2 separate regions of the Homo sapiens genome follow, and region 2 is linked to region 1. The links are contacts of gene promoters, found by promoter capture Hi-C in human tissues and cell types (Jung and others, 2019). All regions are on one chromosome and are shown on one strand. Each heading gives the region's core, a stretch centred on a gene start or on the middle of the fragment in contact. The rest is flanking DNA. Distances are from core to core; before and after follow the strand shown.

The links. The method cuts DNA at HindIII sites, captures the fragments that hold promoters and counts their contacts. A contact is called where the count stands out against the background at its distance.
Region 2: a fragment that was not itself captured here is called in contact with the fragment with the promoter of TMEM156 in region 1 in 1 of the 25 tissues and cell types used here (lymphoblastoid cells).

What each region holds. Positions count from the first base shown.
Region 1 is chr4:39,030,084-39,035,937 of GRCh38, forward strand. TMEM156 (transmembrane protein 156) reads right to left here and starts at 2,326. Exons shown (of 7, transcript NM_024943.3): 1 at 2,143-2,326. The coding sequence starts at 2,230. The HindIII fragment of the contact is 30,825 bases long and covers 1-5,854 here.
Region 2 is chr4:39,353,453-39,359,306 of GRCh38, forward strand. The region is part of intron 1 of RFC1 (replication factor C subunit 1); the gene reads right to left. Among named protein-coding and RNA genes, the nearest start is that of RFC1, 10 kb to the right of the region's middle. RefSeq lists an enhancer at 643-692. The HindIII fragment of the contact is 7,671 bases long and covers 1-5,854 here.

The DNA.
Region 1 (5,854 bases), core at 1,076-3,575:
GTATGTGCCTGTAGTCCCAGCTGCTTGGGGACTGAGGCAGGAGGATTGCTTGAGCCCAGGAGTCAGCCTAGGCAACACAGCAAGACCCTGTCTCTTAAAAAAAAAAAAACAACCCATCAACCCAGAAAGAGTTTGGAGCATTATCTATGCTGTTCTTGGACCAGGAGAAGAGAAACAGCCATTTTAAGTTTGGGAAGGCAGTAAAGGTAGTATTGGGAGCTGATATAACCAGTTTTGAAAGCAAGAGAACAAACATCATTATAAATGATGGTTGACTATTGACAAGATGAAGAAGAACTGACACATTACTATTAGGCCAAGGAAGTTTGGCTAAGATGGATTTTATAAGAGCTCTTTCTTCTACCTACCAATAGAAGGGGCTCCCATCTGTCCCCCACTAAGAATTTCTCTGTGCTTCATCTATCTTCTTTCTGCTCACCACTGCCCCAGAAGGCCATGCTTCTCACTTTGAGAAACAAAAACTAAAAGAACTACATGTCTGCCCCAAAATGAAAACCTTTAACATGCTCCTGTAGTCACCAGTTCTCATAAAATACTAACCAATAGTTAATTAAGTCATTTTTGGGATGATTACCTGGTTTTTATTAGATCCAACCTGATTTTTAAGAGGTGCTAGGTGTAGATCGATAGCTAGCTAGCTAGCTAGATAGATATATAGATAGAACCTACTCCGGATAACTATTAAATGAGCTTACTCTCAGCCCACAATATCTTAAAAATAGATTATCTTTATTCTAACTATTCTCTTTATAACACATTTTCACCCAGTGGAATCAAGCACTGAAAATATGTGCTATGATTGCTTCATCTAAGTAACATAATGCCAGAAAACCAAATTGTAGTCATAGTGTTTATTTAGCAAAAATATTTTTAACTCGCTACTTAGCATCATGTAAATGCAACATCAAATAATCACTGAAATATGTCATCAAATATAATTAGCAAAAATATTTTTATCTGGCTATTTAGCATTACATATATGCAACAATAAATATTCATTGCAGCAAATAATCAAATATGAGTTTTTCTCTGATTTTAATCAAATTCATATAAAGACTATTTAATGATAGAATACAGCCTTTTCTTTTCACCTTTTCTTCTTATTAAATGCTAGGGAGCACAATTACCATTTGAACCTCACATTAATAAATTTTCAAGTCCTTTGCTAACATCAAAATAGTTTAAATTTATACCTATTTATTTTCCTAATCTAGGTTTCAGCAATTATATCACAATTTTCTGAAACGTTCACAAAGTTAATTTTGTTCCATTTTTCTCCAGTTACAAATACATACACATACATCTGTTTAAATTTCCACTCACCTTATTTTGATTGTATTTTCAAAATATATAAACGCTTTTTCTTGTCAAAAGGTGACGGTAAGTTATCTGTGTGAAATAGTTGTAGTAAAGGGAATTCTAGCATTTTTAACACAATAAATATCACTTTCTTCATTAAAGAATTCCAAAATGTAAAAAGCATACTTAAAGCTGCTTTGGGCCAGGCACAGTGGCACAAGCCTGTAATCTCAGCATTTTGGGAGGCCGAGGTGGGTGGATCACAAGGTCAGGAGTTCAAGACCAGTTTGGCCAACATGGTGAAACCGTGTCTCTACTAAAAATACAAAAATTAGCCAGGCATGGTGGTGGGCGCCTGTAATCCCAGCTACTCGGAGGCTGAGGCAGGAGAATTGCTTGAATCCGGCAGGCAGAGGTTGCAGTGAGCCAAGATTAGGCCATTGCACTCCAGCCTGAGCGACAGAGACTCCATCTCAAAAAAAAAAAATAAAAAATAAAAAAATAAAAAAAAACTGCTTTGAAGAAAGTGTTTCAAAGAGCAAAATCATGATGCAATTATTGTAATCTCAATGTCTGAAATCTAGACTACAGATTTTAAATATTTTCATTTTTAGGTATGCTATGATAATTAAGTACTATGAATTAGGTTACTGTACTATATAACAGTCAACTAAAATTGCAATCTTGTTTTATTAGTTTTTCAGATCTAGAACTTCAGCCTATGCAGCATGTGTCCAAAAAGAGGATCTTTTCTGTAACCACTAGCTGACACTAATTTTTTTAAATTAAGAAAGGAAAGCTAGATTACAATTATATACTCACCTTTCGGTGTCTTGAAATATTCCGGCAAAATTAAAATGAATGTGATCACTATTGCCACAAATAATTTAAGGAGGGCTGTTTTTGTCATGTCTCTTCACATGACACAAATGTGTTCCCTTGCAGTACATTCATGGTATGTTGCTTCCTGCTTTAAGTTTATCTCTGCAGCACTTTAGGTTAATGCAGTTCACCTCATACTCACTTCCTTTTGAGTAAGACTTAAAAAAAAAAAAAGGTCTTGAACTGAGACTTCACTTTTGAGTCACTTCCCATTAAAAAAAAAAACTACCCCCCAAATAAGCACTTTCAGACCATTTATTTGTCTTTCTAAGCAAGAAAGGTAAATAAATGATCTCAAGAAGCAAGGGGATCTTCTCCCCACCCAATTTATAAATATAAACCCACAGTATACTCACAAAAATAAAACGGTGGGCTGGGCGAAGTGGCTCACATCTGTAATCCCAGCACTTTGGGAGGCCAAGGCAGAAGGATCACTTGAGTTCAGGAGTTTGAGTCCAGACTGGTCAATAGAGCAAGCCCTCCTCTCTACAAAAATAATTTTAATATAGCTAGGTGTGGTGGTGCACTCCTGTAGTCCCAGCTACTCAGGAAGCTGAGGATCACTTGAACCCAGAAATTTGAGACTGCAGTGAGCCATGACAGGCCACTGCACTCCAGCCTGGGTGACAGAGTGAGATCCCTTCTCAAGAGAGAAAGAAATAAAAGGGTGAATGTCAGTCATGTCTAGGTTGCATGCACATGACTCATTCATTTACTTATTAAATGATTGTCGATCCTGTTTGGTGCCAGGTGCTGTGCTGAATTCTGGTGTTCAGAAAATAGTACATCTAGAAGATAGAAACATTTTAACCATTGCCAATTTAAAAGGAAAAAAAAGTATTGTTTAATTTGCATTTGTTTGGTTGACAGTAATTCTAAAGATTTTTAATATTTGCTGGCAATTTGAATTTCTTTTGTTAATTGCATGTTCATGTCTTTTATTGCAGCATTTATATCCTTCCTGTTGATCTATAAGACTTTTTTCTCTATTGGGAATATGAAATCTTTGCATATGTTTTGCAAACATTTTTCCCAGGTTGTCATTTGCCTTTTCATTTTGTATATGGTGGGAGTTTTTCCACCCAACTATTTTGTAACAGAGTATAAAACACGTACCTAAAAGTTTTATGCAGAGAAACACAGTTCTTCATTGTATTTCTAATATTACACGAAATAATGTATAGTTTATCAATTTAATCATTTATTCTTTTGTTTTTGTTTTTTGTTTTTTGAAACGGAGTCTCAATCTGTCTCCAGGCTGGAGTGCAGTGGTGCAATCTTGGCTCACTGCAACCTCTGCCTCCCAGATCCAAGTGATCCTCCTGCCTCAGCCTCCTGAGTAGCTGAGACTACAGGCATGCACCACCACGCCCAGCTAATGTTTTGTATTTTTAGTAGAGACGGGGTTTCACCATGTTAGCCAGGATGGTCTCGATCTATTGACCTCGTGATCTGCCCACCTCAGCCTCCCAAAGTGCTGCAGTTACAGGCGTGAGCCACCAAGCCCGGTCTCATTTATTCTTAAATACAAAGTTTACTTGCAGCCTGATTTTGGCTTCCTGAAATGCACCAAAACTCGGTCATCTCCCTTGAAGTGGCAACATCTGACTCTCTAACATCCTGTTAGGGTTGATGATAATACTAATGGCCCACATCTCCATAGTTTTGTTTTACAATTTCCAAAGCACTTTTACAAATATTAGATTATTTTTTAAAAACACAAATATTAGATTATAAAGGGGATTCTAGGAACTGCTAGAAATGGCTACAAATCTGCAATTACTTACCCACTGCAAGCTTCTCCTTCCTATTTCAATGAAGGAATAAGAGATTAACGAATCTCAAACACAAGAGGTTGTTGCTACTACGCTAGTGTTTAACTTTCCTAAGTCTTATATTTCATATCTGAGATCCAGGTTCTCAAAAATACTTTAATGTGTTTCTATTTCTAATCAAGACCAAACGTCTTAATTAAATAATTATGCATTCTGTGTTAGATACAAATGTTTAAAATTGAGAGGATCTTTTATATCAAGGAGGTGCTCTACCCTAGGAAAGCAAAAGCAATATACTTTTTAGAAAATTATAAATAGCAGCCTTAAAAAGGATAGTTTAAATTTAACTTCTACATATTTATTAATATACGAAATATACGCTTTTATATACTTTATATGAGTAATTTTTTTTCCTAGTTGAAACTGTCCTCTATCCCTTCACTATATTCTGTGGAAAGGTCTTTATTGGATCAACAGCAGCAGCAACAATCGATGGCATTTACTGAACATTTACTATGTGCTACTGCAGTGTTGAATGTTTTGTATGAATTATTTTATCCAATTCCCCAGCAACTCTCTCAGGGAGTTGCTGTTATTCCAATTGGATAGACAAAGAATATGGGGTATAGCGAAGTCAAGTAAGGGCTCAAAAGTCACATAGTTAATAAAGGGTGAAGCTAGGTGTCAAACCTAACTCTCAACCCAACACTCCATTATACCTCCACTGTCAGACTGTGTGGGAACATTTGTCAAGAAGGGCCACTTATAAAATAATAATCATAGCAAACACCAATACAGTTTTTACTATGTGCCTGATGCTGCACTAACCCAGGGTTTCTCACTGGTGGCACTATTGATATTTTGGGACAGGTCATTCTGTGTTGTGCGGGATATCCTGTACATTGTAGGATGTTCAACAGCTGGTTCCAGTAGCAGCCCTCTCCACCCCAGTTTTTATTTTTTTAATTAAAAAAAACAAAATTAAAAGACAGGGTCTCTATCACTTATGCTGGAGTGCACTGGCATGATCACGGCTCACTGTAGCCTCGAACTCCCAGGCCCAAGCAATCCTCCCACCTCAGCCTCCTGAATAGTTGGGACGATAAGCATGTGCCACCGGGCTTGGCTAATTTTAAATTTTTGTAGAGATGGGGCCTCACTATATTACCCAGGCTGGTCTCAAACCCCTGGCCTCAAGCAATCATCCCACCTCAACCTCCCAAAGCGCTGAGATTATAGGCATGAACACCACACCTGGCCTCCCCGCCCCAGTTTTGACAAACAAAAGAAAAAAAATGTTTCCAGATATTGTCAGATGTCCCTGGGGTGACAAAACAGCTCCCAGCTGAGAACCACTGCATGAAACGCTTCACTTATATTAGATCATTTAAAAAATTTTTTTTTATTTCCATAGATTTTTGGGGAACAGGTTATATGAGTAAGTTCTTTAGTGGTGATTTGTGAAATTTTGGTGCACCCATCATCTGAGCAGTAAACACTGAACCTAATTTGTAACATTTAATTGTTGTAACCACCTTATGAAATAGTTACTATCATTATTTCCATGTTAGTCACTTCAGGCCAGTTCTATTCTAGGTAACCTAATCAGCCAGAAAGTAAACTTAAAAGACAATCCATAACCTGGATCAGCCTAACTACTTATCTTTCTTTTCTTTTTTTTATTTTTGAGACAGGGTCTCGCTCTTTTGCCCAGGCTGGAGTGCAGTGGCACAAGCAAGGCTCACTGCAGCCTCAACCTCCTGGGCTCAAGCAATCCTCCCAACTCGGCTTCCTGAGTAGCTGAGACTACAGGCACACATCACCAGGCCCAGCTAATTTTTGTATTTTTTATTTTGTATTTATTTTGTATTTGTATT
Region 2 (5,854 bases), core at 2,363-4,862, 320 kb after region 1:
TATATCCTCTTTTGTAAATCTCCTAGTTACAAATCCATCCTAATTAAGTCTAAGTTTAAAAGATACTGCTTACAGACTGGGTGTCTCAGCTATGAAACTGAGACATCTGTATCAGATGCTAAAGAGGAGAAGAACAATAAAGAAAACCACAGTCTTTCCTATAATTACAGAGAATCAAGTCTGAGGCTGACAACTACTTTATTGCTTCTGGAGCAAATGAGTTTCGTATCAGTTTCACTTTTGAAATTACACAGTGATTCTTCACTCAAACAATCATGACTGTTCTAAGTGAGCTCATAGATGGAAACATTTTAAAAATAAAAAGTAGTGATTGTTTAAACACATACACACAAAGACAGAGTGATAGTGCATGTGTGCCATGGAAATAACCAAACTGTAAATTAATAATCTGGTTAAAGCAAGTGGTGGTTTTCAACCTGTTTTCGGACCAAAAATGCTTAAAACTGAGAAGAGAAAGAAAACAAAATGTAATTCAGGAAACAGAGCCACTGTTAACACTGATCTGTCTGGTTTTTGTCTGTACAAAAATCTGCACTGCCACTCCTTAGCACTGTTACACCATTTCCTCCCTACGTAATTATTTCCACTCACATCCTCCTTTCTTTCCCTTTGCATTACTTTACCCTACTCCCCTAAACTCCCCCACACTCTGATGGCAACGTAAGAGTTAAAGAAATTGCAGCATCGTAACCTAACTCAGTATACACTAAAAATCAAAGCTTTTAGAAAATAATTTTCATCAGAATGGAAGCCATTCTACTCATACTTTTTTAGAACTATCTCCAGTGTGAGCAGCCATCTGAGGTATAAACATCTAAGAGGCAAAGGTCAGCAATTTGTCCTTAATTTATAGCACGTGACTTCACCTGACTGTTCCAATTAACATTTGCTGTCCAGTGTTCTAGACCTTCAAAGACTTCATGAAATGCAGAAAAACAAGTCTAACTCCCAAATAATGAATCTAAACACTTCTCTTGCCTGCACAGAATAATTCTTGTTGAGCATATGAGTGGAGAAAGGAACAAATATTTAAATTTATTTTTCAATCTTGGCAAGTAGAAGTCCCTCAAAGCAGAACATCAAGGCCAGAAACCATCCCTAAAGAAAGGCAGATTTTACTACACAAAAAGTGCCATAAACAAAGTTAAAATGCAAGCAACAGAGCTGGGCACTGTGGTGCACACCTACAGTCCCAGGTACCAGACAGGCTGAGACAAGAGGATTGCTTGAACCCAGGAGTTCAAGTTCAGCCTGGACAACATAGTGAAACTATCTCAAAAAAAAAAAAAAAAAAAAAAAAGCAACTAACTTAAAAACATCTACAACAGGCTGGACACAGTGGCTCACGCCTGTAATCCCGGCACTTTGGAGGCCGAGGCAGTTGGACTGCTTGAGACCAGCAGTTTGAGACCAGCCTGGCCAATACAGCAAAACCCCATCTCCACTAAAAATACAAAAATTGGCCATGTGTGGTGGTGCACACCTGTAATCCTAGCTACTCAGGGGGCTGAGGCACAAGAATCGCTTGAACCTGGGAGGCAGATGTTGCAGTAAGCCAAGAATGCCCCTTTGCACTCCAGTCTGGGCGACAGAGCGACACTCATCTCAAAAAAAAAAAAAAAAATACACACACACACACACACACACACACACACACACACACAACAGGCCAGGTGTGGTGGCTCACACCTGTAATCCCAACACTTTGAGAGGCCAAGGCGGGAGGATCATTTGAGCCCAAGAGTTTAATACCAGCCAGGGCAACACAGGGAGACCCCCATCTCTACAAATAAAAAAAAAAAAATCAGCCTAGTGTAGTGACACATGCCTGCATGCCTGTAGTCCCAGCTACTCAGGAGGCTGGGGTGGCACTTGCGCGCCAAGAGTTTGAGGCTGCAGTGAGCCATGACCATCACACCACTGTACTCCAGCCTGGGCAACAGAGCAATAACCTATCTTAAAACACACACACACACAAAACTTGTAAAAGGGTTCCTACAAATCAATAAAAGATAACCTAACCAATAGAAAAAATAAATAAAAGCTCCTAATAGGCAAAGTATAAAAGAAATGCAAATAGCCAACACACATAAAAAATGCTAGATGTCACAAATAAGCAGATAAGTTAAAACTTGATCATTTTCCCCTAAGTTTTAGAAGACTGATAATGCCCATATCTGTCAAGGATGTGGGGAAACAGATGCTCACGCACTATACTGCTGATAAAAGTGAAAACTGGTATAACCTTGGCTGGGCGCAATGGCTAACCCCTGTAATACCAGCACTTTGGGAGGCCGAGGTGAGTGGATCACGAGGTCAAGAGATCGAGACCATCCTGGCCGACATGGTGAAACCCCATCTCTACTAAAAATACAAAAATTAGCTGGGCATGGTGGCACACACCTGTAGTCCCAGCTACTTGGGAAGCTGAGGCAGGAAAACCGCTTGAACCCGGGAGGTGGAGGCTGCAGTGAGCCGAGATCATGCCACTGCACTCCAGCCTGGTGACAGAGCGAGACTTCACCTCAAAAAAAAAAAAAAAAAACACTGGTATAACCTTTATGGAAGGCAATCTAGCCACACTTACCAAAATTTTAAAGGTACATACCCTTTGCCCAGTAATTTCATTTCTAAAAGAAATGGTAGGCAGGGCGTGATGGCTCACACCTGTAATCCCAGCACTTTGGGAGGCCGAGGCGGGTGGATTACGAGGTCAGGAGTTCCAGACTGGCCTGGCCAACATGGCAAAACCCCATCTCTACTAAAAATACAAAAATTAGCCGAGCTTGGTGGTACGTGCCTGTAATCCCAGCTACTCAGGAGGCTGAGGCAGGAGAACGGCTTGAGCCCGGGAAGTGGAGGGTGCAGTGGACCAAGATCACGCCACTGCACTCCAGCCTGGGGAAAAAGTGCAAAACTCCGTCTTAAAAACAAAAAAATTCATTGAACACATGAACGGTTATTCCTCAGGCCACTGACCTTCACAACTGCACTCAGAAAGAGAGGTTCTTGATTATGTAAACCAAAATAAATGGTAGATTTGTTTTTAAAGATTATGTATTAAAAGAATCTTTTAATTGGGATTAACTTTGTGCTATGACTTTACCTAAGAAATTTTAAGAAGGTATTAAATTAATGCTGATTATATATTATTTCTGAGCTAAGTTAATAAAACTGAGTTTCTATAATTGATTTTCTGTTACTCTCATATTAAAACATTGTGGCTACAAAAAACAAAAATATACTTTCACTTTTAGTAGGACATTTCCTCTTCTTTAAAATTTATTTTAAGTCAAACTAATAACTTTTTTAAAGAAATCAGAAATATCTCTAGATTTATAATTGATGTTACTAATTTAACAGTCTAGCATGGGTCTCAAAAACTTCTCTGAGGAAAACACTGGTGAGTGAAATATAAGTGTGGTCTGAAAAACTTTTGAACAGTAACAAGTTCTAGCTAGGAAGAATTTTAAGAGCCCGCATCAACTTTTTTCATTCAATCATTCATTTATCCATTCAAGAAATATTTACTCAGAGCCTTTTATGGACCAAGAACTATTTTTGATGCTTGGGATAAACAAAACAGGCTAGGTCTCTGTTCTTGTGAAGCTTTCATTCTACTTTCTGTTCCTAATCTTTCTTTAATCCATCTTTAGAAAACAAAGCAGAGCACAGAAAAGAAAGAACAGAAGAAATAAAGCACACTGAGGGAACAGAAATAGAGAATAGAAACTACTTCCCCTACTCACCCCAGTATCTGTTAAGTCTACCTGAGAGGCCACTCCCATGACAGCAAAAAGACCCATTTCTACTGCTGTTGTGGCAAGAGGGAAGAATAAGATTCTGAAGTCATAATATTTACTATCATTGAGCTTTAGACTACGCATTCAATGAAATACTCTATCACAGAAGTTTCCAGGTACCTGATCCAAAAATACAAATCAACACAGGCATATTAAAATAGCAAATGGAAATAATTATCTAATTTAAGTTTAAAAAGCATCTTTTCATACCTGCATAACTGGGATAACTAAAGCATTTGAGACTGTTTATGCCTGATCTAATGGTTTATTTCAGAATTTTGACATTTTCACCAGGGCTAATGTACTCCGATTATGGTTTTTATTCATCCAGGAGCTAACTTTTTTTTTTTTTTCCCTTGAGACAGAGTCTTGCACTGTCGCCCAGGCTGGAGTGCAGTGGGGCGATTTCAGCTCACTGCAACCTCCAACTCCCAGGTTCATGCAGTTGTCCTGCCTCAGCCTCCCAAGTAGCTGGGATTACAGGTGCCCATCACCATACCCAGCTAATTTTTCTGTATTTTTAGTAGGGACAGGGTTTCACTATGTTGGCCAGGCTGGTCTCAAACTCCTGACCTCATGATCCACCTCCCAAAGTGCCAGGATTACAGGCATGAGCCACAGCGCCCGGCCCAGAAGCTAGCTTTTTACAACTGACTTCTGAGCCAAAAAAATCAAATTTAAACTACTTAAATGAACACAGAAATAAAGTCCAACTGGGCCAAGCGCAGTGGCTCACACCTGTAATCCCAGCACTTTGGGAGGCCAAGGCGGGTGGATCACCTGAGGTTGGGAGTTCGAGACCAGCCTGACCAACATGGAGAAACCCTGTCTCTACTTAAAAATACAAAAATAGCCAGGCATGGTGGTGCACACCTGTAATCCCAGCTACTAGGGAGGCTGAGACAGGAGAATCACTTCAACCTGGGAGGCAGAGGTTGCAGTGAGCTGAGATCGCACCATTGCACTCCAGCCTGGCCAAGAGCAAAATTCCGTTTCAAAAAAAAAGAAATTAAGTCCAAACTGAAAATAGACCTACAACATAATAAAATAACTGTATTTCTCTAGGCAATATTATTTGTCGCTAAGTGTTTTAATAGCTTAGATATAAAGTCATGCAACAGTGCGAGAGATGTTTTTATACCAGGAAGTTTTACCTTCTAGTTTATTTGTATTTTTAGTGGAAATATAAAGTTCACTTGTAATTATTCATTCCTCTAATATTTGTGGAAAACGCACCGTGAGCCACGCGCTATATGGCAGTTCCCTCTCCTTGTGACCCCTGCCCTTACAGAGCTTATATGCTAGTGAAGGAAGTTGTCAACACCTGCAACAAGTTGCTCATTTATTAAAATAAGCCAAAATGTGTGCCAAGGAAACAAAGCAGGTGCTCTCCCACTAATCATGCCAATTGTTTTTATGCTTTTGTGGATGAAAGCTACACATATTTTCCACGGAAATACGAAAAAACAAACATATGCACAAAACTTTGTATCCAATGTTAGGGGTTTTCCCCTAAAGCCTATTGGGAACCCCAAGTCAAAACTCCGGAACCACACACTCACACTGTGCGAACTAACTCACACCTACTTAACCCCAGTACCACTTATGTACATACCGATACTTCCTAAATCTTGTGTCTGTTTCTCCAGACCAGCTCTGAATTCCATATTTATGCAGCCAACATGCAGCCAAATCCATCCCATTGCAAATCTCCCAAAGGTGCCTCTAACTAATAATGTCCTCAACTAAATTTATCTTCAGCTGGGACCTGCTTCTCTCCCTTTATTCCCCATCTCCATGCATAGCACCACCATTCACCCAAAACAGAAACATGGCCACTGCTTTTCCTCCTCCCTCTGGCCCTCCACCTAATCATCCAACCTAAACGATCTCCCAAATACTGCTGTCTTCTCCCCTCTATTCCCACTGCCACTGCCTTGATTCAGGACTTCTTTTGTTTACTTAACACAACTTTCTAGAGGCCTCACTCTGTGCCATGCAATGATTTGAGCACTTTTAAAATATAAAGT